5 separate regions of the Homo sapiens genome follow, and regions 1, 2, 4 and 5 are each linked to region 3. The links are contacts of gene promoters, found by promoter capture Hi-C in blood cells and fetal thymus (Javierre and others, 2016). All regions are on one chromosome and are shown on one strand. The core of a region is centred on a gene start or on the middle of the fragment in contact, and the rest is flanking DNA. Distances in the headings are between cores, read along the strand shown.

What was found. The method cuts DNA at HindIII sites, captures the fragments that hold promoters and counts their contacts. A CHiCAGO score of 5 or more calls a contact.
Region 1: a contact is called between the fragment with the promoter of TSLP here and the fragment with the promoter of STARD4-AS1 in region 3, in 4 of 17 cell types (non-activated CD4 T cells, activated CD4 T cells, naive CD4 T cells and 1 more). The highest score is 8.4, in non-activated CD4 T cells.
Region 2: a fragment that was not itself captured here is called in contact with the fragment with the promoter of STARD4-AS1 in region 3 in 3 of 17 cell types (megakaryocytes, M1 macrophages and monocytes); the score reaches 6.4 in megakaryocytes.
Region 4: a fragment that was not itself captured here is called in contact with the fragment with the promoter of STARD4-AS1 in region 3 in 1 of 17 cell types (monocytes); the score reaches 5.1 in monocytes.
Region 5: a contact is called between a fragment that was not itself captured here and the fragment with the promoter of STARD4-AS1 in region 3, in 1 of 17 cell types (non-activated CD4 T cells). The highest score is 5.5, in non-activated CD4 T cells.

What each region holds. Positions count from the first base shown.
Region 1 is chr5:111,069,023-111,074,077 of GRCh38, forward strand. It overlaps TSLP (thymic stromal lymphopoietin), which reads left to right and starts at 2,691. Exons shown (of 4, transcript NM_033035.5): 1 at 2,691-3,039; 2 at 3,866-3,910; 3 at 4,489-4,623. The coding sequence starts at 2,869. The HindIII fragment of the contact is 3,260 bases long and covers 1-3,050 here.
Region 2 is chr5:111,775,749-111,780,798 of GRCh38, forward strand. It overlaps a transcript of NREP not described here. Among named protein-coding and RNA genes, the nearest start is that of NREP, 21 kb to the left of the region's middle. The HindIII fragment of the contact is 658 bases long and covers 2,791-3,448 here.
Region 3 is chr5:111,509,541-111,514,991 of GRCh38, forward strand. It overlaps STARD4-AS1 (STARD4 antisense RNA 1), which reads left to right and starts at 2,686. Exons shown (of 7, transcript NR_040093.1): 1 at 2,686-2,968. STARD4 (StAR related lipid transfer domain containing 4) reads right to left here and starts at 2,995. Exons shown (of 6, transcript NM_139164.3): 1 at 2,845-2,995. RefSeq lists enhancers at 2,630-2,839, 3,320-3,459 and a silencer at 2,870-3,239. The HindIII fragment of the contact is 3,364 bases long and covers 1,510-4,873 here.
Region 4 is chr5:111,938,373-111,943,574 of GRCh38, forward strand. NREP-AS1 (NREP antisense RNA 1) reads left to right here. Exons shown (of 4, transcript NR_046678.1): 2 at 1,665-1,762. It also overlaps a transcript of NREP not described here. Among named protein-coding and RNA genes, the nearest start is that of NREP-AS1, 28 kb to the left of the region's middle. The HindIII fragment of the contact is 1,918 bases long and covers 1,446-3,363 here.
Region 5 is chr5:111,147,472-111,152,903 of GRCh38, forward strand. No RefSeq gene overlaps it. Among named protein-coding and RNA genes, the nearest start is that of WDR36, 58 kb to the left of the region's middle. The HindIII fragment of the contact is 2,318 bases long and covers 2,103-4,420 here.

The sequences.
Region 1 (5,055 bases), core at 1,441-3,940, 440 kb before region 3:
CTGTTTTTTTACCTTTTGACACCAATGTATTTATTGCAAATCACTTCAAATGCTACTGGAAAGGTAAATAGTGAACAAATGAACTGCTATAAAACATTACCTACTTTTAAAGAACTCGCAATCTAATAGAGAGATAAGGTTGAAAAACATTATTGAAATGTTAAGTAATCTATAGAAGCCATAGAAAGAAGTCCAAAATAGATACGGCTTACAGGATAATGAGGTCACATCCTGGTAGGAGACCACTTTTGGAGACATCAAATAAGATGAACATGGCAAGACATGAAAATCTAACATCTCAGATTGGGAAGAAAACAGCTCAGAGCATGTTTAGAGCATATTACCTTCAGATACTGTTTGCTGGAAGCCTAGGAAAATGAAGGAAATAGGGCTGGAAAGACAGCTTGGAGCCAACGCAGGAGGGATAATTGTAATCTCAAAACAACCTTGAGTAGGTTGTTTTGCCATAACTTTTTGAGCAGACAAGTAATATAATCCAGGTGATCTAAGAGGTCACATAATTACAGATAAGGAAATTGGGGGCAAAAGGAACAAGTGTTTAGCAATGTTTTAACAGACAAAGAGACACCTGGGATGCCTTAGAAAGAGATACCCTGCCTACCTCATCTGAACAAAGACTCTACATAGATCATAGACACAAGGGGTTTTTAAAAGAGGAAACAAAAAAAGGGAGGCAGCCTGGTTATACCTCCAGAAGAATGCAAGTCGAAGCTCAGTGTAGGCTGCTTTCTGTTGTTCTTGCCCCCATCAGCAATCAAGAGATGAAGCCGAAGGTTCTAGTGGGCACTCACACTCTCTGGCCCTACAGCAAGCCACTAGAGGGGAAGGCATGTCAGGTGAGGGTGACAGAAGCAGCCACCATGCCCTTTCCTTTGTCTCTTGGAGCTATCCCAGCCCAGTGAAGAAATCTAAGTTTAGCTCCTGTCTGCCTATATAATAATGTCCAGCTGCCGACCAGAATAATCTCTGATGTCACAATAGATTAATCAGGTTTTGGCATCATCCCACAATACCCTGAGAAGTTGGTGATGGGGGAAGAGTGGACTTTTTTTTCAAAGAATGCTGTGGTGACTCGAGTACAACACATGAAGAATTCCAGAAAAGAGCCATTTTTGAAGTCAGCGGTGAATCAGAGGTTTTCTGACCCTCTCGAGTGCCTTCTATGAAGAAGAGTTCAACTCTGGCTCCAGTTTGTCCCCTACTCTTTTCCCGAATCCCTCGACATTCCTTGCTCTTTTCCCCAGGCACCGCATGGCCTGTGACATTTGCTGGGACTCACACACGGCGTCCAACCTCCTTTCTCCGAGCGATGACTCCTAGGAACTTCCCAAGGACCAGAGCGATGCAGGCTCCGACACGCGAGGGCGGGGGGCGGGGGTGAGGGGTGCGATGGACGGGGGAGCGGAAGGGAAAGAGAGAGAGAGGGGACCTGGGTGTAGAGAGGGCCCAGGGCCGCATGAGCCAAGCCAGGGAGGAGCAGGGGGTTCATCTCAGCAACCTGATCGGTGTCGGCCTTTCCCTCCCTTCAACCCTCCATTGGTGTTGCTGGAACTGGGAAGACTGCTAGACAGACATCCTCTAGGGCACTCTCCCTGACTCACTTTGCTGTGCTTTTAAGCGCTCTTTTCTGGATCAACAAGAGTTTGCTAGTAAAAATCTGAGCCCGCCATCTCGATGCTTCTCCTGTCTCTAAAACTGGTGCCCGGGCTGAGGCCCCAGGTGACAGACGTTTTCCAGTCTACGCTGCGCGGGGCTAAGCCTCTGCGAGGCAGAGCGCACTAAAGCGTGCGCCGCCTCCGGGAGAGCTGAGCTCAGGACAGCATCGTCTCCGTGCGGTCGCCGCTGGGCACCCAGCAGCGCGGTCTGGCTCCGCTTCTTGTGTCGCTGGCCTTAAGAGTGGGACTGTGAAGGTGGCTGGGCGCTGGAATTTGTGGTTTTAAAAGTTCTTGACACCTGCTAGAAAGTGCTAGAGGACTCTTCAGCCCCTAAGGTGCCCCTAGCCACCAAGAGTAGGCGTTTTTCCTGAAATTGATATGGGAAATTTGAAAAGTAGGGTTTTTGAGAACAAGCCACATCAGATCTTTCCCCACTTATTTCAACCTCTTATCGTTCCTGCCCCTAAGGTTCTGGTCACGGTTGCACATTTAATGCTTTCACATGGAAGTGCTGTCGAAGACTGAGACTGCACCCCACCCTCCAAAGCATCCCATAAGCAAGCACAGTTTCTTACTAGCCAAGGAGAAGGGAAAGCACTAGTTGAAAGTGGCCACAGGAAATGCTCAAAGATGTTCAGAATGCATGGGACATATGCAAGGACTCCAAATCCTTACAGTGGCTGCTGGTTTCAGAAGGTGTTTCTCCCAAATAGAAAGGATTGGTCACGGAAATGCCCTGTAGGAGAAAGACACTGGTATCCGTTTCTTAAAGGACATTCACACTTATGAAGTGTTTAGGGCAAAGCAAAAAGGAGGAAGGTGAGGGAAATTCCTGATGACTTTACTGATGTTAAAATTCCATAGATTTAGCTACTCCTTTTTTTTTTTCCTTTCACATCATCAATTCAGAATTCTATAAAGGAAGAGAATGACATGGTAGAAAATCATTGGCCTAGGAGAAAAGAGCCCGTAGGCGTTTAGGTGTTATATAGTGCAGCCAGAAAGCTCTGGAGCATCAGGGAGACTCCAACTTAAGGCAACAGCATGGGTGAATAAGGGCTTCCTGTGGACTGGCAATGAGAGGCAAAACCTGGTGCTTGAGCACTGGCCCCTAAGGCAGGCCTTACAGATCTCTTACACTCGTGGTGGGAAGAGTTTAGTGTGAAACTGGGGTGGAATTGGGTGTCCACGTATGTTCCCTTTTGCCTTACTATATGTTCTGTCAGTTTCTTTCAGGAAAATCTTCATCTTACAACTTGTAGGGCTGGTGTTAACTTACGACTTCACTAACTGTGACTTTGAGAAGATTAAAGCAGCCTATCTCAGTACTATTTCTAAAGACCTGATTACATATATGAGTGGGGTAAGTGAAGAAGCTTTTTTAAAACAAATGTATTTTCATCAGAGGAGTCGGCATACACACACTCTACAATTTAACTTTGTAGGAAAGAAAAATAATTTAGAAAAAATCATGGCCCCACATTTTGTCAAGGATTCTTACAAGTGATATTCAAATATCTAATCTAAAATGATTATCTAGAAATTGGCACATTCTAAGTGTGCAGATGCTGATGAGGAGCAGGTATTGATAGACAGCGCGTTATGCGTCAAAGGATGTCTATCCTTTGCTAAAGTGTTACTCTGACTATGCTGTAAAAAGCAGGAGGTAAGAGCTTAAGAAAGAGGAGTAAAAGAGATAATTCTCATGAGATAAACTCTAAGGATTGATGCTGTGCTCCAGGTCTCTCCAGTGTTTTAGATGTTTCAGGATGCTATTTATTACAGAATATGGTGTACTTGGAATTTTTTTTAACATACAGTAGTAATCATTTTCCTGATTAACCTAATTTCTAGACAGAGTTTGCATTCATGAATGGCCACAGTACAGATGCGGACATCCAAAGGATGGCATTATTACTCACAAGCATAGTGCTATGTGCAGTTATGGCTTGAGGGAAGGGAGGGGGGAGGTCGCCCTCTGAGACCTGAACCTTTTGGTGTGGTTTCAAGCACTAACCAGCACTATCTAATGGCTATTTCACTGCCTTGTCAATGACATAGGAAAAAGGTACCTGAGTGGAAACTGTTTTCAGGGCACCTTTAAAGCCTGGGAGCAAAGGGTGGAGGGATGATTTTCCTTGTGGACTTAAAAGTCTTTACCCTCTTTGTCCTATTTTTCTTTCTTCCAGACCAAAAGTACCGAGTTCAACAACACCGTCTCTTGTAGCAATCGGGTGAGTAGAGAGTTCAGTGCTGCTGGCTTTCTCCAGGGAGACGCCAGGCATTTTGGAGAGGGAGTATCCTGCTACGTGCAGAACTCCGAGAGGTGCCTGGGCTCCGGGACGCCGCCGCCGGGGGAAAGGGGACATCTGGGCTGTCAGAGCGGGGCTGCGCCTAGCTTGGGACAACACTTCTGTTCCAATTTAGGGAGAGGAAGTCTCTATCCGGAGGAAAGGCAAATTGGGAACTGGGACGAGGGAACGTTGTTAGGGGCACCACCTGCTGGGGTCCGGCGCCTCCGCGCTCGGGCTCGGAATTTTGGCAGCCTCCGCCCCCTGGAGACTTGGGAGGAGCGAGCGTGGGTGACAGTCTTTTCGCGACGAGTGCCCTCCGCCACCCTCGCCACGCCCCTGCTCCCCCGCGGTTGGTTCTTCCTTGCTCTACTCAACCCTGACCTCTTCTCTCTGACTCTCGACTTGTGTTCCCCGCTCCTCCCTGACCTTCCTCCCCTCCCCTTTCACTCAATTCTCACCAACTCTTTCTCTCTCTGGTGTTTTCTCCTTTTCTCGTAAACTTTGCCGCCTATGAGCAGCCACATTGCCTTACTGAAATCCAGAGCCTAACCTTCAATCCCACCGCCGGCTGCGCGTCGCTCGCCAAAGAAATGTTCGCCATGAAAACTAAGGCTGCCTTAGCTATCTGGTGCCCAGGCTATTCGGAAACTCAGGTAAGCCCGAAGCCTCAGACGTTTGCTGTACCTTGGGGCTAACCTCAAATTAAACTGGGGCTTTGGTGCAGAAGTCGTTCTCTTATTTTTATTTAGGTTTTATCTTTCGAAGAGCAAACGAGCCGGGTAAAAGTGGTAGGATGTCAGTTAGACCCACGTTGATACCCGGAATCAAACTCACCTATTTCTACGGTTCTGATACTGTTTTGGCTGAATTATGGTTCTAAACCTTAGGGCAATGTTTCAAGCTATGATGAGTGAGACTTCTATATCAGAATGTTTTGATTGCTGGAGCATAAGAGTATGGCTGCTAAAAATGCCAATTCCCAGGTACTCAACCCAGACCTTCAACATTAAAATCTCAGATTATGGGGCTCCTTAAGAGATTCTTGTCCAGTCCAAAGTTTGAGCAACACCTCTTGTTCTTATCAC
Region 2 (5,050 bases), core at 1,870-4,369, 270 kb after region 3:
TATCAACAGAGGGAGAAGACAAACAACAATTTGGGGGAAAATACTTGTGACTCCTATCACAAAGAAAGAACTTAATTTCTTCCATTTAAAAAGTATTCTTCTAAATCAATAAAAGACCAAGAACCTAATAAGGGGTGAAGGATATTAAAAGATAGATCACAATAAAGGAATGATAAGTGCTTTTGCACTTATGAAAATATTCACTATCACTTATAATAAGAGACTTTCAAATTAAAACTATAAAAAACCATAAAAATGTAATTTATAACTACTGGATTAACAAGTTTAAAACATTTGATGATTTACTGTCAGTAAGTATGAGGTGAATAGCCTCAAACCCTGCCAGGAGCAGTATGTACCAGTTGAAACACTTTGGAGAGCAATTTGGTCATATAGACTCACATTAAAAATAAGCATATCCTTGGGTCAAGTAAATTCATGTCATAATTTTTCCTCTAGATAAACTTGTATATGTGCAAGATAATTTATGTCAAGGGGTATTATTTGGAGCATATTTTGTTCCAAGCAAATGTTTGAAAATAACTTTCATCTTTATTAAGAGTGGGCTAGTTTAAATACATGATGGGAATACTAATGTAATGCTATGCAGCTGTTAAAAAGAATGATCAAAATTGGAACATCTATTTTGGAAAACTGTTTAGCAATGTTCACTAAAGCTAAACATACACCTACCTATTGCATGACCCCAGCTGCTCCTAGGTGTATGAGAAATAAATGCATATATCCACCAAAAGACATGCGCAAGTCTGTTCATTGCAGATTTTTTCAAAATAGCCCTTAACTGGAAACATTCCATATGTCCATCAACAAGAGAATGAATAAATAGTCGTCGATTCATACAATGGAATAATAGACAACAACAAAAAGAATAAGCTGATGGAAACATCAGTTTACACTACAACATGGAAAATCACTCTGACATGTTGAAGGAAAGAAGGAAGATACAAATGTGGTTTCATTTATGTGAAGCTCCAAAACAGGCAAAACTAACTGTAGTGATAGAAGTTAGACTAGAGATTTGCCCTGGGGCATGGAAGACCATTCTAAAGTGATGGAAATATTCTATATCATGATCTGAATGGTGTTTACAAAGGTATATAAATATATAAAATTGGTCATGTGTTACCTTATGATATACTTAAGATTGGTGCACTATATACACTTTCTAATTTAGGTTATACCTCAATGAAAAAGTAAAGAAGGAAAAATAAGAAAAAGGATGAGGAGGAGGAGGAGGAAGGAGGTGGAGGAGGAGGAGGAAGGAGGTGGAGGAGGAGGAGGAGGAAGAAGAGGAGAGCAGCTATATATGTACCCATATAAATAATCTCCAAGCTAGATTGTTAAGTGAAAGTATTTCTCAACTAGAGTTCCTCATTTGAACCACAGCTCACAGAACCATTATTTGTAACTATTTCCTCAATTCTTCTATGGATGGTACATAATTAATATCATTCCTGATGCCTAGAAGAAAAGCCAATTTATTACATACAATGGATGACTTAGAGTATGAGAATTTAATTCTCGCAAGGAACTCTCACTGAGAATGTTTATGTTTGCTACAGTGTGTGGTGTGGGTGTGTGTGTGAGTGTGTGTGTGTGTGTGTGTGTTTTAAGTACGTATTTATTATGAGAATCTAACAGTAGTTGTCTCTGGAGAGGAAACCGGGTAGCTCACTTTTCAGTGTGTGACCTATGTTACAATTTAAATTGTGTACTGCGTGCATGTAAAAACACACAAATTTCTCCCTAAATGATACATTGGGAATGTTAGAGAGGTGAGACATCTAGGAGTAAATACGACAATGCTTCAGTGTAGTTGCACATTAACCATTATGTGTATATTTGTGGTATTCAGTAACAAGAGTGTTTTGAGCTCAATTTTTAAGTCCAAAATGCTGTTTATGTAACTTTGAGTGATCTAAGGAAGAAAAAGCAACGTTTTTGAGGGCATGGTGCATAGTTTAAGACTGGCAAAGTTCTAGAAATTATAGGTGTGGAGAAAACAAGGGAAATGTATCACAGTTATACTTTGTATAACTAAAGTATGGCCAGGTCCCAATTGTATTCTCCTAGTAGGTCCCATCACTTTCCCCATCTAGTCCAATTGTGCTCTGATTGCCTGTGTGATGGCTCACATGAAATAGGTTGCTGATTGAGATAAATAGGGTATGGGAGGTCCAGGAATTTCATTGTTTTGCTGGTAATTTGAAATGTTAAACAGCAAAATATCAAAACAACTTCTCTGTTTTGCCTGTACGTAGAACAAGCTAAAGAAAGCCCAAGAAACTGATACCTGGTGGCAGAAATCATAGGATTTAGTACAGAACAATTTAATGCATACACACAGGCACACATCAGAAGTGGGAGTGGTCTTGTCAAGCAGAGGCAAGTTGCTTGCCAATCTCCAGCCAGCACATCAAACTCTTCATATGCTAAGAGAATTGCCCTAGAATATCCAGATACATTTGTAATAATGCAGATAACAAAAATTACTGCTACAAGTGGTCTGAGATTTATTGACAACATCAATGCACGTGCCAAGTGCTTTATATGCATCATAGTGTTAAATGTCCACAACATCCCATTGAGGTAAATAATGTTGTCATCCTCACTACGAGTGAGGAAACAGAGGCTCACTGGGTTTAAGTAGTGTGCTTAACAGTTAGTGAGTGTGGGGCCTACTTCTTGTCCTCTAAACCATGTCCTTTTTGTCTATTTCATGGCCAATTGTCAGTAGTATGAATTCCTTATATAAAGAGTTATACATGAAGCTTTACATGGAGTCAAAGTCCTTATTTAATTGTGATGTAGGCTTTTCCCACACTCCATTACATTTCTTAATTTGCTAATGTATTTCACTCCATTTCTTGGAATGGGCACATATTTTTCAGTATTGCTTTACAAGTTTGTTTGTGTTTGTTTGTTTGGCTGTGAGGCCCTAAAAAGCAGAGATTTCTTCAGAAAGTTGACAAACAGCATATTCTTTAACATCTTGCAAAGCTCTCCTATGAAGCCCCCTCAAATAAAATTCACTATACAGAGGTTACTACATGTAAAATATCTTCAGAGATACTTCAACAGCATACGATGATTTTTTAAGCAAGTTCTTTGGTTACCAAGGATAAGAAGTTCACCATGACATTTCATTCAGTACTAAAGTATGTTTTATTTTTTTAATGGTCCTCGAATATCATAGAAGAACATCTTGTAGCAACCTTTACGTTGCAATCATACTTTATTGAAACTCCTTGATATATGAGTCTTCCCTACTTAACATATATACCCAAAAAAGAGTACATAAACTTATTTGAAAATTTATTTGAAATATATGAAAAGAAATTAAAATACATTCCTATTTTTCTTTCTCCCATCCCATGTAGAATAATTTCTGTTCACTTGGCTACAAACTAGCTGATGCATTAAGATAAGCTTATTGCTGTGTTGTTGGGCTATCTCAGCAAGCCAGAAAGCAAGGGGTGCATCCAGACCTCCTAAGGGGTTGGAAGCAGGAACTAGATGGCTTTCTGGAACTTCACTTCTTTTCCCAGCTCTAGACGCCAGTGTGCATCCTGTCACACAGCTCTGCACCTGCTTTGTGCTTCTGTCTCTGCCGGGAGGTTTGCTCTGCTCTGCTCAGACTATTTTAGCTACTGTCTGTTAGTCTTAGCTCATTGCCCCAGGAAAACAATCTAATTGGATTAGTTACCATGATTCATTTAGCCATAAACAGGTATGTGATGTCACATGTGCCCTCCCATTCACTGGAGCTATGAGAACCAGGAGGAGAGGCTTAGGTCAAACTCTCCAAGAAAGGGGGTAAGGGCAGTAGTGAGGACATGACTGTGGAGAAACAAGTGGGAATTTGTATTATGGCTTGCCCGTGAGAACCAATATTCTTCCAGAATCTGGCTAGAGACTATTCAGAGAGTATATCTTTCATATTTAGATGTTTCTATAAAGGCTTCTCCTGGGTCAATCCATTTCTGAAAGTTTATAGGACTTAACAGTAGGCTTTGGAAAGGCAACTCAATCAGATGCTGAATTGTACAGTATGAGAGAGGACAAGAACATAGCTTACCTATTAAATGGGTACTTGAGGGCTCTCTCTTGATTAAATTGTGATTTTTTATTATTTTTATTTTTGCCTCAGAAGTTCTGTTCTTAGGCATATTCATAATGTCTGAGGCTGAGGCTTTCCCTGAATGCTTTGGAAATCAGAGATGGAAAACTTAAGTGGATAGTGCTGGCCGTGATCCAATGCACGCTAGTGCAATGCAGAGGGGGAAATTGTCATTTTAAACCACAACTGAACAGAGCAACTTCTGCCTTCCCGTGGAGAACACGGGGGTGGGAATGGGGCATAATTTATTTAATTGGAGGAATAAATCTCTTCACTGTTCCTTTCTCTTGCAGAAAGAGATGGAGTAGGAAGCAAGAGTGACCCTCAGATTTAGATGGCATTTGGTTTAGCAGAATACATTAGTGGGACTTTGGATTTAAAAAGAGTCTATGCACTGAGTATGGTGTATGGAGATTTAGCAGAGCTAAACTGAATTATTTTGCATAAGAAAATGAAAGGTATTTAAAGTTTTTGCTACTGTGAGAGAAGAGGCAGATAAGAAAATAGAGGGAAACAGGGAGAGAGGAAAGCTCTGGAACACAGGAAAGAGTCATAGAGCTTTTTAAATTAGGGGTTTTCAATATTCTAAGTTATTTGGCTACAATGTAAATCCCACTCATTGCTGCAAACATCAGTCAAGTCAGTGTAACCGACTTGAAGGAGTATTTTTATTTGCTAGTATATGTTTGGTGGGGAGTGTATTTCATTGTGTATGTAAATCATGGAAGGAGACTGGATTTCAAATCTTGTTTTGAGTGGTAGAGAATAGGGAAATAATATGAAGCACAGTTAGACAATTCACTAATGAAACTAACAGAAAAAGCAGGAGCTAATAGTCATAGGTGATTTGGAAATCTTTTAAATCCTCACTATTGCTTTTTGCAGCAATTTCTACATTGCAAAGAAGGC
Region 3 (5,451 bases), core at 1,436-3,935:
CCTGGATTCCCCTGAACCTGGGTTAGTTCCCCCTCCAATATTTTCTGACAGCAACTCTGTACTGTAATTATTCACTTGTTATCTTCTCCCGTTTAACTGTAAAATCTTTGGGGGGTAGGAAATCTGGCTTGTTCAATATTAATTCTCCTTACGTCTAGCACTCAGTAGGAACACAGTGAATAAAAAATGGAAAAATGTATAGACAATAAGCTACCATTCTCACTTATGGAAGACCTCAAGATATCTAAAGTATGCCCATTTACGCCAATCCTAGAGCTTCTGAATAACTAAAACTTCCTTTACCATAATGAAACACCATTTCTCAAGAAGGACTACTATTAAATATTTATCAAGCATCTATTATATACCAGGTCCTAGAACTACAGAAACAGATGGAATTCAGATTTTACTCTCAAATTGACTTATTCCACCCTTAAGCTTTAACAGAAATAACAACAACAAAAACTAAAACATTAAAAAATTCTATTAATAGCCTTTTTAAGAGTGGTGCAGTGGGAGGTAGGAAAGGAAGAGAAAGAAGTACAAAATCAGAAAGCTCTCTCTGATTAAATATGTCCAGCAATGTATTTAACCAAACAGTTAAGTCTTGCATGGATTATTTTCATCAAGATTAAGTCCATAATGAAATAATCATTGCCATCAAAACTGCTACCTCTGTGTAAACAGGCATAATTGAGCATTTCTCAAAATATTAATATATTCTAGAACCAAGAGGGTTGGGGGAGATGGGTTATCAAGGTCTTGGCTCTCTCTCCTAATATAACAGGGTACTGACATTAATTGAGAGGAAAACACCTAATTTGCCCTCCTGCAATCTCCAACTGTGGAGAATGTCAGGTAAATGTTTTAAATGCCATTCTGAACCCATTCTGAACTTCCTTTTACTAATTCAGTCTTTTATTCCCTTATCTTGACCTTATATCAGGAAATTATCCAACTCTAACATTTACACGTCAGAGAGAACAGGCACCACTTAACCTTATCAGAATATAATAGGTTCATATAAAAGATTTTATACTCTTGTCAGTCCCATGGCCAAATGCTGAGTAATGTCCACCTCCATGTTTTTCCTTTAATCTTTTTGTTCATGTTTTCTATGCCCATGCTTTTGAAGCTATCACTAGTGGTGATAGTGGCTGCCATCATAGGGAGGGCAGCTGTCTCAAGTTACTTTTCTTGAGGCCATCTATCAGCACCATAGTCTTGACCAATCCAACTCCAATTATTCTCAAATATCTGTCACAGTGAGATGGCATAGGTTCTATTTTAAATATGGAACATAATAAAACATTTAACCTGTAATGTAAAGTGAATGCCATAAAAATCTGTTTGGACTTTTGTAGTACGACTAGGTCAGAATTCACTTGTTAAAGAAATGCAGGTATCAGAACGGTCTAACCTTGCATTACTTGATTAATATGGTTTTCACTTCCGTCAACAGCTTCAGTTTAACATGCCATGGACTTTCCCCAATGTCATACAAACCAAAGCTTTGTAAATTAAATTATATTTTCTAACTAACATAAAAATTTCAGCATATGCTTGATTTCCAATCAATGTTGAACTGTTAAGTTTTCTAACTCAGACAAGTACAGCAGCTTCTCATTTTTTGAGACTGGCTCTGGCAGGAGCTCACTATTTAAAGAAATGCAACATGGAAGTATATTTCTACAATATGAATAGTGAGCCAACTTACTGTTCAAACCCCTAATGCTCTAATACTTGATTAAAAAAAAAACCTAATGCTCTGTACTTGATTTTAAAAAATAACAATAACATTTATTGATCACTTACTACATGGTCAGTCCTTCTGGCTGCTTTACATTGCATTTATTTTATTTAATCCTCACAACAGTAATAGTCCTCCTTGAGAAAATGTGTTTCATTATGGTAAAGGAATTTTAGTTATTCAGAAGCTCTAGGATTGGTGTAAATGGGCATACTTTAGATATCTTGAGGTCTTCCATAAGTGAGAATAGTAGCTTAATGTCTATACATTTTCCCTGTTTTACAGAAAGGGAAAATAGCAACAGGAAGGTTGAGTCACTTGTCCAAGATCACACAGTTCATAAGTGATGGAGCCAGAATTCCAACCCAGGGCGTCTGACTTCAGAGCCTAAAGCTCTCTCTTGTAAAACTGTGGAAGCTGATCACAGGCTGGAAAAGACTTCATATAAAAAACCTGGGCCCACCAAATATTTGTCAAGTTTTGTCCTGGCTGCTGAACCTAAAAATCTAAGGTAATCTTTCTCAAGTGTAAATTCGGGAAAACAATGACACTGATTTGGTGAGAAATTATTTGAGTTAATACATTTAGCAGGGACCTTGGAAGGCAGTAAGCCCTGGGAAAACTTTGTCTCTTGTCTTTGGCATCACCTCCGCGAAGCCTGGTGGGACGCGGCTGCCCCTGCGCTGTCTGTGCACCTCCTAAGAACCAGGAAGCGCGGTGACCTCCAAAGAACAGGACTGTCCCAAATCAAGCGGGATTACCACCGCCCCTCTCCCATTTAACAGCTGAGGACACTGAGGTCTAATGGATTCCAAGTACTTAAATAGGTGAGCGGCGCGCAGGGGCGAGTTGCAAGCCCTGGGATCCTTCCAGCTCGCCGCTTCCCCTCCCAGGGGCTCAGGTTTCTCTTTCATCTGTGAGGTCCTCTCCCGCCCGGACGCCGGGGCCCGCCATCCCCAACGTCCACCGCGAGCTCCCCAGATCCATGGTCTGGAGCAGGTCCAGAAGACGCACCTGGCAGGACGCCCCGGGCGCCACAGTCGCCCTCCACACGGGCCACCCCAATCCTGCCGCGGCTCCGTGGCTCTCCTTACCTTTACCTGAGGTGAAGCAAGGACGTGGAAGCAGCTACGGCGCGCTACCAAGCACCTCACACCGCTCTCAACAGTACTGCTCAGCCTCCCGGCCCGCCGATGCGCAGGCGACAGCAGCCAACTTGTAAGTCACCGCTGGTCGCAGCCAACTGGAAGGCACCCAGCGCCTCAGGGCAAGGCGGGCCGAGCCCCCAGCCCCGCCCCCTGGCCCGATCCCGGGGGCTCCGGGGAGGGGGGGCTGAGAGGAGGTGGCCGGAACAACGTGCGCTTGTTCGGATTGGCTGGCGCGGGAGCGTGTGGAGGGCTGATTGGTGGCCGATAAATGGAATGATTCCGCGTGGGTGTGGGCTGGCCCGAGCCGCGCCAGGGTTCCCTGGATGTCTGGGGTTGCCTGCAGGTTTGGATTGGTTGGGTTGGGTTGTCCTGTGATCACTTAATTGTGAAAGAATTTTGTCAAGCAGTAAACCGACTGGGAGAAATTGAAACAGAAGGCGAAGTGAAGGATCACAGTGAGGGATAAGGTCCAAATTCATCCCGCTTGTGGATATCCTAGTATCTCGCAACTACGCTACTCCTCCCAGGACTAAAAGTCAAATAAGAAAAAGCGCCCATGCAGAGGAGGACGAGCTCTCTGCCTCCTGCTTAGCCTGACTCAGAACTGAGAGAGCTGGGAAGGAAAATGCATATAAACGAAAGTCCCTGCCACTATGTGAATTGACCTTTAGCCAAATACGTTTGTGTGTGTGTGGGTGTGGGTGTGTGTGGGTGCGTGTGTGTGTTTCCATCCTCAGATAAAGAGTTTAGAGGGCAACCTTAGAAGCAGAGAAAAGGAGGAGGTGTGACAAGTGGATTTAGCAACTGCACAGTTTTGGAGTTTCCATCTACTCGAACATGAGAAAGATTTCTTCCAGTGGCTGTGAAGTCACCCATCTGATGGGATGCTTGGCAAACAGTGAATTTCTTCCTTTACCAGAGTAGCCATGATGCACTGATTAGCGAGGCTTGGTTTGTCTGCAAATTGCGTTTACTAAGATACGTAGTTTGAGAACCAAAAGCAGGGAAGAATGCAGTGCTACACCATTAGTGATTTCTGATAGACTTGCAATGAAAATAAATAATATTTCGTAAATTTTTAAGTCGGCCTCACCAAAAGAATTACCAAATACTACTTGCTAGTTATTATTGGCCGATTTATTTTTTACCTCCATCGTTTATATGTAAAATAATTTGTTTTATATTTATATTTATAATTTCGTGTGACATAATAGAAGAGTTCTTCGTGTGTTGTAAAGCTCCTTTCACTTAGGAATTATTGGCCAATTATTGAGGTGCTTTGGATGGATGGATGAATACGTAGATAAATAATTTGAAATGGTTGGGGAAAAGTGCTTTGTAATTAAGTTGTACCTACTTAATTCAATTACATTGAATCCTCTTAACAGCCCCCTAAGGTAGGTGTGTTTTACAGGCGAGGAGCCCCAGACATAAATCTTAAGGCAGGTTGCTTAATTACTGAGTGGAGAAACTGGAATTTGGCTGAGGTCTGCTGGACTCTGAAACTGGGCTCTTAGTCTCCATAAAATTCAGATGGTGCTTGGTAGCTCTTTGTCAAGGCACCTGTGAAGACCACTGGGACCATAAATGAAAGGCCTAATTCCTACTGTGAGGGTTTACACAGGTTTAATGGTGGAGAGGAATAAATCCACGTATCTATTTCAAAAAAGTAAAAAAGTTGTATCTGTCATTATTAGGATTCAGTTCTGGATACTTTGCTCAACAGTCTATATATTCTCTTGCAGGATGGTGTAAAACATGTTTAAAACAAAATTAACTTGGCTTTTTTTTTTTGGACGGCGGGAGTCATTACATCACACTTATGCCCCCATGGGATTTCTTATCTTCCAGCCAGTTTCTGGGAGGTTTTTGTTTCTTTTGCTTTTGTTCTTCATCTGTTGCCATTTTTCTTGGTTAGAATGAAGTTTGGGTAATTGGAAGCCACTCTATCAAAGTGGAATGCTACTAACAGCAAAGCTTCAGATTCAGAAATACATATACAAATACATCATCTGGAGCTATTTTTGAGGGTTTAGTATGGTCCAAACACAGTGCTAAGCATTTTACATTTTACAGCAATGCCTGAAAATAGGCATGTACTATTACTATTTTCATTATACACATGAGAGAACTGTAGTATGTAACACAACAGATAGATCTCCCCTACAAATAGTTTGAAAATGGGAAAATAAGGTCTCCATCTAGAATTCAAATATAAAAGAGGCATATAATGAATTTGATCAGCTAAATGGAAACTTAACCTAAAGAGACAAAACAACTGCCCTGCCAAGTCCTGACTATAATCTGACTGAATATAGTAACACATCTAAAGAAAGAATTTTCAAGAAGAAAAACATTAAAAATTCCAAAACACAGAAATAATATATCCACAATTTCTAACCTGGGCAATAAATCTAGAAGTAAGCAAAGCAAAAACACGCTCACAAATATCCCCAACTACTTGAAAATTTCTAAAAATCTGTCCCCAAACACATTGGTTTAAGAGAAAAATCAAACATTACATGCTGAAGAATATTAATAAAAATATTTTAA
Region 4 (5,202 bases), core at 1,155-3,654, 430 kb after region 3:
ATTGTCAACAATTGCATCCTATTTTTATTTTATTTCATGATAAGAGTATGCTCCTCAATTTAAAATCAATCTTTGCATCCAGGCAAGTGAAACTTAAACTAAAATTTCAAGATTCATTTTCTCCTTGAGAAAAATCAGTATGGTGTAATGGCTGATGGTATCAGAGTATGGACTCTGTAGGCAGATGACATGGCCTAGTTTGCATTTCAGATCGGTCACTTACTGTATGTGTGACCTCTAGAACAAGTTACCGAACCTATGCCGGGGATAATATCATGTTGGGGATAATATCATTTCCAACCTCAAAGGCCTATTGTAAACTTTAAATGCCTTCGTACGTGTAAAGTACTGGGAACAGAACTTAGGGCATAAAAAGCTGGTGAATACTAGCTACCATTATTGTTCTTGATCAACAGCTTAGTATACTGCAGTCAGCAGCTCAGAGATCACCCATGAACTCTAACAACACTCTCAAAACCTTTTGACAAGCAATTAAGATAGATAATGACTACTTTGTAACAAACATAAAGTAGTTTTCTTACTGGATGAAAAGAATGTAACCCTGCCATTATGGCTTGTAGTAGCTGGAAAAGCAACCTGGATCAGTCCATCGATTACTGGAGAGACTCTGATCTTACTTAGTATCTTACTCATAATCTATCTAGGATAGACTCACAGATAGATTTTTTGTTGCTGTTAATCATGCCTAGAAATTACCGTCCCCCTTGCTCTTGGTCTTCCTTCCTTTTTCTACCCTCTCCCTACGACTACTTTTATTCCTGACAAACAGTCCATGGAGCCTCACATCTTCCAGCATGGAACACCTCCTAGCAAATGAACCACATTCCTTTACAAGACTCATTACTTCTCACAGCAAACATCTGATGCAAAAAGTAGGCTCAAGGGGCAGAGATTCTGATCCTGTCTCCTCTGGAATGATGGAGTAGGAAAAATACAAGGAGCTATCATTTCTGGCAGAGCCAGGACATCATAACCAAAGCATCAATTTCCCTTTTAAAGATACTTTAGAGCAATCAGCATTTTTTCCCAGACATTACAGTCTGGGAAATCCTCATTATTTGTGGATTCCATATTTGGGAAGTTGCCTACTCACTTAAATTTATTTGTAACCCTGAAATCAGTATTTGCAGCATGTCTGTGATCATTAGTGGTCATTAGCACAGTGTGGCAAAAAAAAATTCGAGTTGCCGCACGTGCAAGTGCACAGCTGAGGTCAAACAAGGCAATATTCTACCTCTTTGTTTCAGCTCTTACCGTAAACAAGTGTCCTTTTCATGATCTATTTAGTACCACGTTATTTGAATTTTTGTGCTTTTTGTTGGTGATTTTGCTGTTTAAAATGGTCCCCAAGTGTAATACAGAAACTCTATCTAGTGTTCCTGAGCACAAGAGGGCTGCTATGTGCCTTATGGAGAAAATGGATAAGCTTCATCCATGCTGTTGGCCATGAGTCCAAAGTTAATGAATCAATGATACATATTAAATACGTTATCTTTAAAAAGAAACACATATAAGACAAGGTTATGTTTTGATCAGCTGACAAAAATACTGTTATCACAGGCTTATAGGAATCTGACTCTTTATTTCCTGTGGGAGTAATCATTCAATGTTCAATTAACTTGGCGTTCATGGAAACTTTACAGATTTACAGTGAAGAAGAAGAATCAAGTGTACATCCCAATCTGAATTACTGCATTCAAAGAAAAATTACCACTGCTAGCCACTCTACAAGAATAGCACAGTAAGTTGTCAAAACAAAACTATTCCTTCAATTTACTCCTTACATAAAGGGAAACACTGTGATAGCCTTTTGTGATAAATAAAGATGCCTAATATACCTTACCTGAAAAAAGACTACGAAATACCAAAAACAAAATATAGTTTAAGGATAGGGATAAAAGATAAAACAAAAACAGTTCTTGAAATACTGTTCCCTCTCTTTTCTACCTACTGATTATCAAAGTACAGTTCAGAAGACAACCAGGAAGTTGTTGCCTTCTCTCTGCTACTCCAAACTACAGCAGACATGAAGTCGTACTGGCAAGGAGATCAAAGTGTCTGTCTGTCTGCCATGTTCCAGGTCCACAGAAAGAGAATTCAGTAGACACATATCTCCCATCCCTTCCAACTGGCAAAAACGTTGGAGAGAAGAGCTAAAGTAGGCATGCCTTTCTCTACCACACACCACTCATCACCCAACTACTCTGTCCTAGTGGAGGGGAGTCACAATTATAGGGATGGGCCCCGACTCTGAAGACAGAGAAGAGAGGCAGGTGACCTCATGCAAACATTAGGAGTACCCAGGTCCACCCTCACTTCTGAAACCTAATGCAAGTTTGGAGTTGCCCAAGGCCACTCTCACTTCTGGTACTCACTGCAAGTTTGAGGGTCCCTGAGACCACACTCATGCCCCAAAATTCACTAGAAGGACTCAGAGGACACAATAAAACCATTATACTTTTGGTTATAGTACAGTGAAAGGATACAGATTAAAAATCAGCCAAAGGGAGAGGCACATAGGGCAAGGTCGAGATTTCTGGGTATGGATATGTCATATAATGTCTTCAATAAGTCTTCAGTAAAATCCACAAAGTACATTTATGTTTTATAAAACACATTTCTTTTTTGGGGTAGGGAGCAAACCCTGATTCTTGCTTTAAGGTTGTTGCTGGGAGAAACCACAGAATAACTATGGGATCCCAGAAATCTCTGGGTTACCAAGAAATAAATGGACATCAAACTTTTCTTTCACAAAGGAATTGTAAATAGGCATTCAATTGCAAAGGAAGAAACTGATGAAGATCATATGGGAAGTTATTAATCAGTCATTTTTCTGGTTATTTAATTATCTTGTTATAATCTAGAGTATAAAACCTGGGTGAAAGCCCAACATCACACCTTTTTGTTTTAGTTTGCTCAAGCTGCCATTACAAAGTACCACAGACTGAGTGGCTTACACAACAGAAATTTATTTCTTATAGTTCTGGAGGCTACAATTCCAAGATCAAGGTGTCAGCAGAATTGATTTCTTCTGAGGCCTCTCTCATTGGCTTGTAGATGGCTGTCTTCTCCACATCTTCACATGGTCTTTCCTCTGTACCTGTTTGTGTCCTCCTCTGCGCACTGTAAACAGTGTGCAGTAAACTGCACTGTAACAGGCTCTGTAAACAGCCTGTCTCCAAATAGAGTCACATTCTGAAGTATTAGGGGGTTAGGATTTTAACATATAAATTTTGGGGATGACATAGTTCTGCTCCTAACACTTTTACATTTGATGAATGCAAGCCTATTATTAATATTAGCATTTCAGACAGGACATCTAGGAATGGGATTGATAATAAAAGCTTCAATGTTTCTGGACCAGAGCATGCCATATCTGTTTTAAAACCAATTGAGAGGCTGACCTAACATAATCCCACCAAAGGAATGTAAATCTACATTCTGTTATCCTCTAAATAGATTCTAGCTTATTTACAACTATGTCTTCCTTCCTAGACATGTCTATGTGTTATATCACCACAATAATATACTCACTACTTCTTAGCCTGCATTTTTAACACCGTGTGTGGACTCTGAATTAGATTTTTGGTAAATTCAGTACAACATTTTGTAGGATAGCAGAACTAATTTTTGTTTTGTTTTGCTTTTGTGGTAAGAGTACTTGTCTCAAAGATCGATTCCATGAGACATCATTTTATTACCATAAAAACAGTTATATTAACTTAGCTTCACAAAAGTTATTTTCTTATGGTAACCATCTTAGCAAACATTGTTAGCCAGGATTTAATTGCTATTTGTTAATAAAATTTCAATCCTGATGCTTACCATAAAATGTTTATATTTTTTAATATTTTTATTTCGAATGACACCAAATAACACTAAAATAAAAATGATTCATATTCTGAATTTTCTCACTTAAAAAAATCTCATGAGAGTCGCCTTTCCATCTGAAAAGTGAAAGTCATGGTCACATGTGATGCAGTCATTGCTTTGGTTCCCTGGTGCGGCTTAAAAACAGTCCCTAAAATAGGCGCTTTTGCTCTTCCTGGTGTCTTGCCTGCATCATACTAACTACATCTGCAACATTGCAGGTGTCTTTTTTTCATTGCAAAGCAGTTTGTGCTATCAAATAGCAGCAAGTGTGACTCAAGACTGAAAATCAGGGACAGGGTACAAAATAATTGCAAAGAAATCTGAAATGATATAGAAGTTGATATTCTTCTTTAAAGACTTCTAAAGCACTAGTTTTAAAAAAAAACAGCATCAGATAATGATACTAAAAAACCCTTGAAAATAGAGTTTTATACTCCAGATTTGGTCAAAATATTTTACTGTCATCACCCATATAATTAAGAGGCTGTACATAAAAGAGATTAAGAACATGGACTCAAAAGTCAGAATGCCTGAGGTCAAATCCTGTATTCATCTCATAGTAGTAGTCAACACTAGGCAAGTTACTGGAACTGTCCATTTCTCAGTTTCCTTGACTGTAAAATGTGACTAAGTCTAGTAATTATATTGTAAGGCTGTTTTGAAACTGAATCAGTTAAAGCACTAAGAACAGCATCTGGCACTAGGCAGCACTCAATAAATGGGGTTAAAAGTATTATCCTCTCCCCTTTCTCCCCTTTGATCTCCTATACATATGTGGCTCCCATCTCATCACTGCTGTCTCCTGTAGTCCTCTTTCCTTTTTTCCATTTTCAGCTTTCTAGGCAGCTATGACAACTGGCTCCTCTTTTGCATCTCCACTCTGTCCTCTGGCAAGTTCAATATTATATGAATAAAGCTGCCTGCTATTAGTCATTTCCATATTAATAATAGCTAACATTTTTGAGCATTCATCAGGTGCCGGTTATGCTGCCTATTGTGAAACACATTGAACTCCCTATACATCTTCTTGCCTGAACTCTCATAGGCACATACTGCCTTGATTTTCCTTGCCTTCTCTGTCTTGCTCTTAAATGCTGGGCTTCCTTGGCATTCCTTCCCCAGCCCTTTCTCATTCTATACACATTTCCCTGGGTGGTGAAGAGTCCATGTCATCAATTACAAACCAAATGATTACTCTTAAACCTATATCTCTAGCTTGAACTTCTACCCTGAGCTCCAGAACTTTGTATTATAGATGGGCACTGAAATCTCAACTTCGATGTCCCACTGCACTGCGAAGCCAGTGCA
Region 5 (5,432 bases), core at 2,012-4,511, 360 kb before region 3:
GGAGGTGGCATTGGTAAACTGGTCTTGATACCTCCGAGTGGATGCTATGAGGCTATGAGGTTCTAGTAGTCTAGAATAACTGTGAACTGGAATAAACCATTGCTTCTGGAATAAATTGCTCTTTCTGGATCAGTGCAGTGTTGTTGGGGGCCTGCTGACAGGAACAGGAAGGAAAGAAGAAAGAGAATGTCTCTTCCTGCTCCAGCCTTGCAGTCAGCCTTCAACAATCTCTTATCAGTGGAGTCCGACAGGACATTCCAGAGAACCCCCTGATTTCCTGTCTTCCCTAGCCCTAGGAAAATAGCAGCTATACTTTTCCCCTTGGTAATCAGAAGAAATCAACCAGATAATAGAATAACGTATTTGTCTCCTTTTGCCTGTTGAATCCATGGCACAAGGAGCCTGAAAGATAAGTAGAGTCTCAATTTCCAAGTCAAAGGAATCTTTGATTTTTCCCTGGTAGAAGCATTCCTCCCTTAGTGACCAAGATGTCCAAACTCAAAGAGCTCAAAGTTGAGAAGAAGGGAAACAAGAATTTTGAGAGAGGGTGATTAAATGTAATAGTGAAAGGAATCTCTCCTGGTTCTACCACCTGATTCTCAGATTCACACATTATGTCTATGGGAGAAACAGCATCAAGTATTGGTTGTTGATTCAAAGCATACACTGCCCTTTGTAAAATAATACCCATCCTTGCAGAATATTATCTCTCAACTGGCCTCATAACTGAGTCTTCAGTAAGCTCTTCCACCGTTATATCAGGTCACTTCCTTCTGTAGTATCAAGTTCTTGGTAAGACCAGTGAAATCCATGGGGGTGAGCCCATTGATGCTCTACTTCTGCCATGACATGAGTTTCTTGATTTGAAACAATATTGTGGGTATACCATGGCAATGAATAAAGCAACTCATAAGTTCATCCATAATGGTGCTGACAGACATATTGAAGGCAAGGAATACAAATGTATATCCAGAATATGAGTCTATTCTAGTGAGGACAAATTGCTGTCCTCACTTGTGATAACAAAGGTCCAGTGTAATCAACCTGCCATCAGGTGGCTGGCTGGTTCTCTCAGTGTGGAGGCTGAAGCAACTCCAACTTGAAAGCTAATCTGCTATGTTGGCTTCGATCAACCCCTGTTACAGTGAGGTTTCTAAGATTTCCAGTTATCTATTGTTCCTTGTGTAAGAGCAGGTAATTACCATAAATCCTGCACCTATGTCAAACAACCTTGATGTTATCATACTTGAATTGTCCTACACATGCCTTCTGAATGTGTAGGACACATTCCTTCCCTGTGGTATATAAACCCCTAGGTCTGGTGGGCAATGCATGGGGATCTACCAGCTTGTCTTGCTGCTTCCCAAGACACAGACATGTCTTCTGTTCCTAAGTCCCTATTAAATGTCTTCCTTTCCTTCCTTCTCTCTCTCTTTCTTTCTTTCTTTCCTTTCTTTCTTTCTTTTTTTTTTTCTTTTTGAGACAGGGTCTTATTCTGTCACCCAGGCTGGAGTGCAGTGGCAGGTTAATGGCTCTCTGCAGCTGCGACCTCCCAGGCTCAGGTGACCCTCCCACCTCAGCCTCCTGAGTAGCTAGGACCACAGGCATGCACAAGGATCCCCAGCTAATTTTTTGTATTTTTGTAGAGACAGGGTTTTGCCATGTTTCCCAGGTTGGTCTTGAACTCCTGGGCTTGGGTGATCCGCTCAGCTCTGCCTTCCAAAGTGCTAGGATGGCAGGCATGACCCACTGCACCTAGACAAATGCTTCTTTCTGAGAAACTGTATTTGTCAGCCCCTTTCTTTGGTCTCTCAGCTTCCTCACACTTTACAGTAGGTTTGCATAGACCTGCCCACCACAAAACAGTGAAGAAGGGCTGGAATATCAGGGGTTCAGCATTAGTCTGTCTTGTGCATAGGAAATGCACTCAGCAGTAGACAGACCAACTTATGCACTTTTTTTAAAAAAGGCTATGCATTACCTTCATCATTGCCACCATACCTATTTTGTATATGGACATTTCATGCAAGCACCAGGGTGTCTAGGGAAAGAGGCCTACTGATATCTACAAAATGTGTCATCTTGTCCACTTGATTATTGGAAGCTTCCTATGCAGAGGATGCCCTTTGGTGACACTCAGATGGAACACAAATACCCTCAACACTGATCCATTCTGAGAGTCACTGCTCTCAATTTATGCAATGATAAAAATTCACATATATTGTCTGCTTTAAAAAGCCCAGCATCAGAATTAGCCAAATGGATGAAGTCCAGGGGAGCTCTTGTCTGTGTATAGATGCAGTAGCTTTAAGCATTACTTCAGTTTTTAATTAATCCATGGTACTGCATATGCAATGTTCATGGGTTTCATTGATTGTTATCAGAATGGAGGAAGGTAGGATAATCATATTATATCAGAGACCTCAACCTCTCACATGTATAAAAGCCTTGACAGGAGCTATTAGAAAATGAATAGGACTTTATAACTTTAAAGGTATCTCAAATCTGCTAACATGCCCAACTTCCTCCTCTGACAGCTGACTAGTGTGATGATATATTTCTCCATCCTTGCTGTAATGCTGAGGACCCATGCAGTAAGCAACCACTTCCTACCTTGACTCTACCCTTCTCCTACGCCAGCAAAAGTACCATATCCCAGTACTACCATTCGATGAAGAGTCATACACTTCTAATGGGAAACAATAATTTAGCAGTACTTAAAAATCATTCAAATGTTTGAATTTCTTATTCTTCCCTAATGCTTGCAAAGATTTTGATATTTTCTACATAGTTATGATATTAGAGAAGCAAGTCACCTGATAGAATGGTAAAATAATTTACTGACAACTCCATTATGTTTCTGAGGAAGTCTTTACCTTAAAAGGAAATCAAAATTGTCCTTCCACATATGTGTTAGGCAAGCAGATCTCTAAGAACAAGTTAAGAAATAATCTTATCTCACAATTTACATTTATTTGATCTCATTTGGTCATTCCAAAAAAATTATCTCATTGAATTCTCCAATTACTTCAGAGAAGTGAAGTAGTTTGAAGGTGGTTTGGCCAAGATGTCTATCTAGTTATTGGTAGACAGACTTTCTGACTCCAAAGCCCATTCCACTTAAGGAAACTGGTACAGTATCATTAATAATAAACAAGACTATTTTTGAACATCATATAAACACTGGAGTATCCCATCTGGGGTTATTTAGTACTGGCAGGCTCTTCTTCTTCTCACTGGGGTAAGGTCTGTACTTGCACAGATAAATAAAATGTCCTATTAATTTTCTCATTAACTGGAGAACCCTTTTGCTGACACGTTACCTTCATAGAAAAGACTGTGAAAAATTCGCATCCAATTGCCTTCTAGACCTGTTCGTTTTGGAAGTGTATCAAAGAGCCTGGCTAATGGAGAGCAAGACTCATTAATTACTGGCTTTGATCTCCTATAGTGCCCAACACTCCTTACTATATTCAGGAATATTGAATTCTTTGGAAAATGACTTCCTGAGACCTATTCTTCACATTACTTCCAATGGAAAAAAATTGCAGCCAGCCAGAAATGGATTATTTGGCTACAGTCTGCTCAGTTTTCAAGAAGGTAATTGAAACTTCAGGATCCTTAACTTAGGGAAAGTGTTGGCAAGTCTGTCACCCACATCTGTGATAGCCCTTTATTTTCCTTTCTAACTTTTCTTCTTGAAGTTTAATTTACAAATATCACAATGTAATATTAAGTGTTCAGGTCAACAAAATTTGACAATGGTAAATATTCATGAAACTATCAAAGCATTTCCATCACCCCAGTATGTTCTCTTTTGCCCCTTTCTGGTCAGTTCCCCTACCCTCCACATACTCACCTCAGAAACAACCACTGCGTGGATTTTTTTAACTGCAGATTACTGTTGGCTGTTCTTGGACTTCATGTACATAACATTATATGGTGTGTAGTTTTTTTGTGTCTAGCTTTTTTCATTCAACATAATGTTTTCAGGTTCATCTATGTTGTTGTGTGTATTAGTAGTTGTATTAGTTTGTTCTCATATTGCTATAAAGAAATACCTTAGGGCCGGGCGCGGTGGCTCACGCCTGTAATACCAGCACTTTGGGAAGCCGAGGCGGGCGGATCACGAGGTCGGGAGATCGAGACCATCCTGGCTAACACGGTGAAACCCTGTCTCTACTAAAAATACAAAAAATTAGCTGGGCGTGGTGGCTGGCACCTGTAGTCCCAGCTACTTGGGAGGCTGAAGCAGGAGAATGGCATGAACCACAGCTGCTCATCAGGTTACCTGGCAAGTGACACTGTGGGTGGGGGGAGTTGTCCCTGGAATAGCTTGCCTGATGGTGTGCTTACAGGCTATCATGCATCAAAGTATTTCCTACATGCCACCAGAAACTGAGAGAAAGAATATTTCAAAAGCTTGGAACTACAAGCACATACTTCAGACAATTAATTTTATCTTTGTATTCCTTTGTAATGCCTTACATCTTTTATTAGCCTTTCTCTACAAATCATGTTGTGTAATTCTTAAGTCATCAGTAGTAATGACATTTATCTTCCTTTTGTAGGTTTAGACCTGCAAGTTTCAAACTGTAGGTTTTACGTCCTTTGCTTTCCCTTTCTTTCCTTCTTCCCTTTTTATGTCACCCTTTTTCTTTCTCTCTTTCCCTTCCTTCCTTCCTCCTTTCTTTCCTTCTTTCTCTTTCGTTTTCTTTCTTTCTTTTTCATTTCTTCCTCTCTTCTCTATTTTCTTCCTCTCTTTCTCCCATTATTTTCATTCTTTCTTTCCTTCCTTTCTTTTTCTTTTCTTTTCTTTTCCTTCCTTCCTTCTTTCTTTCCTTCCTTCCTTCCTTCTCTTTCTCTTTCTCTCCTCCTTCTCTTTATTTCTGTTGGCTTTCCTTGCTGCTCTTTCTACATGGTTGATTTTTAAATGTTTTAAGGTGGTTTGATGGGATAAGTAAGTATAGCAAAATAGTATTTATGAAAATAGGTGAAAAAGAAAAATGGAAATCATGAGTGGAAAGATAAGCTGTAACTAGGAATGGGGCTGTTACAATACTGCACATCACAGAGACTTCCTGGCTAAAGACGAGCTCCAAACTTAGTTCTAAGCCATCTTGCAGTTAACATAAAAAGGGAAAACTGATCAGTCACCATATCCCCAGCTCTTGAGCACATTGCTGATTTTAACAAAATTGGGATTCCATTAATAAGAAATAAAAGGAGAAAGTTTATTGGGTAAAAAACTAGTGGCTTCTACCACATTCTACCCCTTTGGCTTTGTAATATTCATACACACTCTTCCTCTCATAAATAGACTACCTTCTCCAGCTTCTCCCTGAGAAATACCACACCATTGTCTCATCCAGTTATTTCATTCACTTCAAAGATAGGATCTTTTGTAATGTGCTTTCTGATTTTCATCAGGT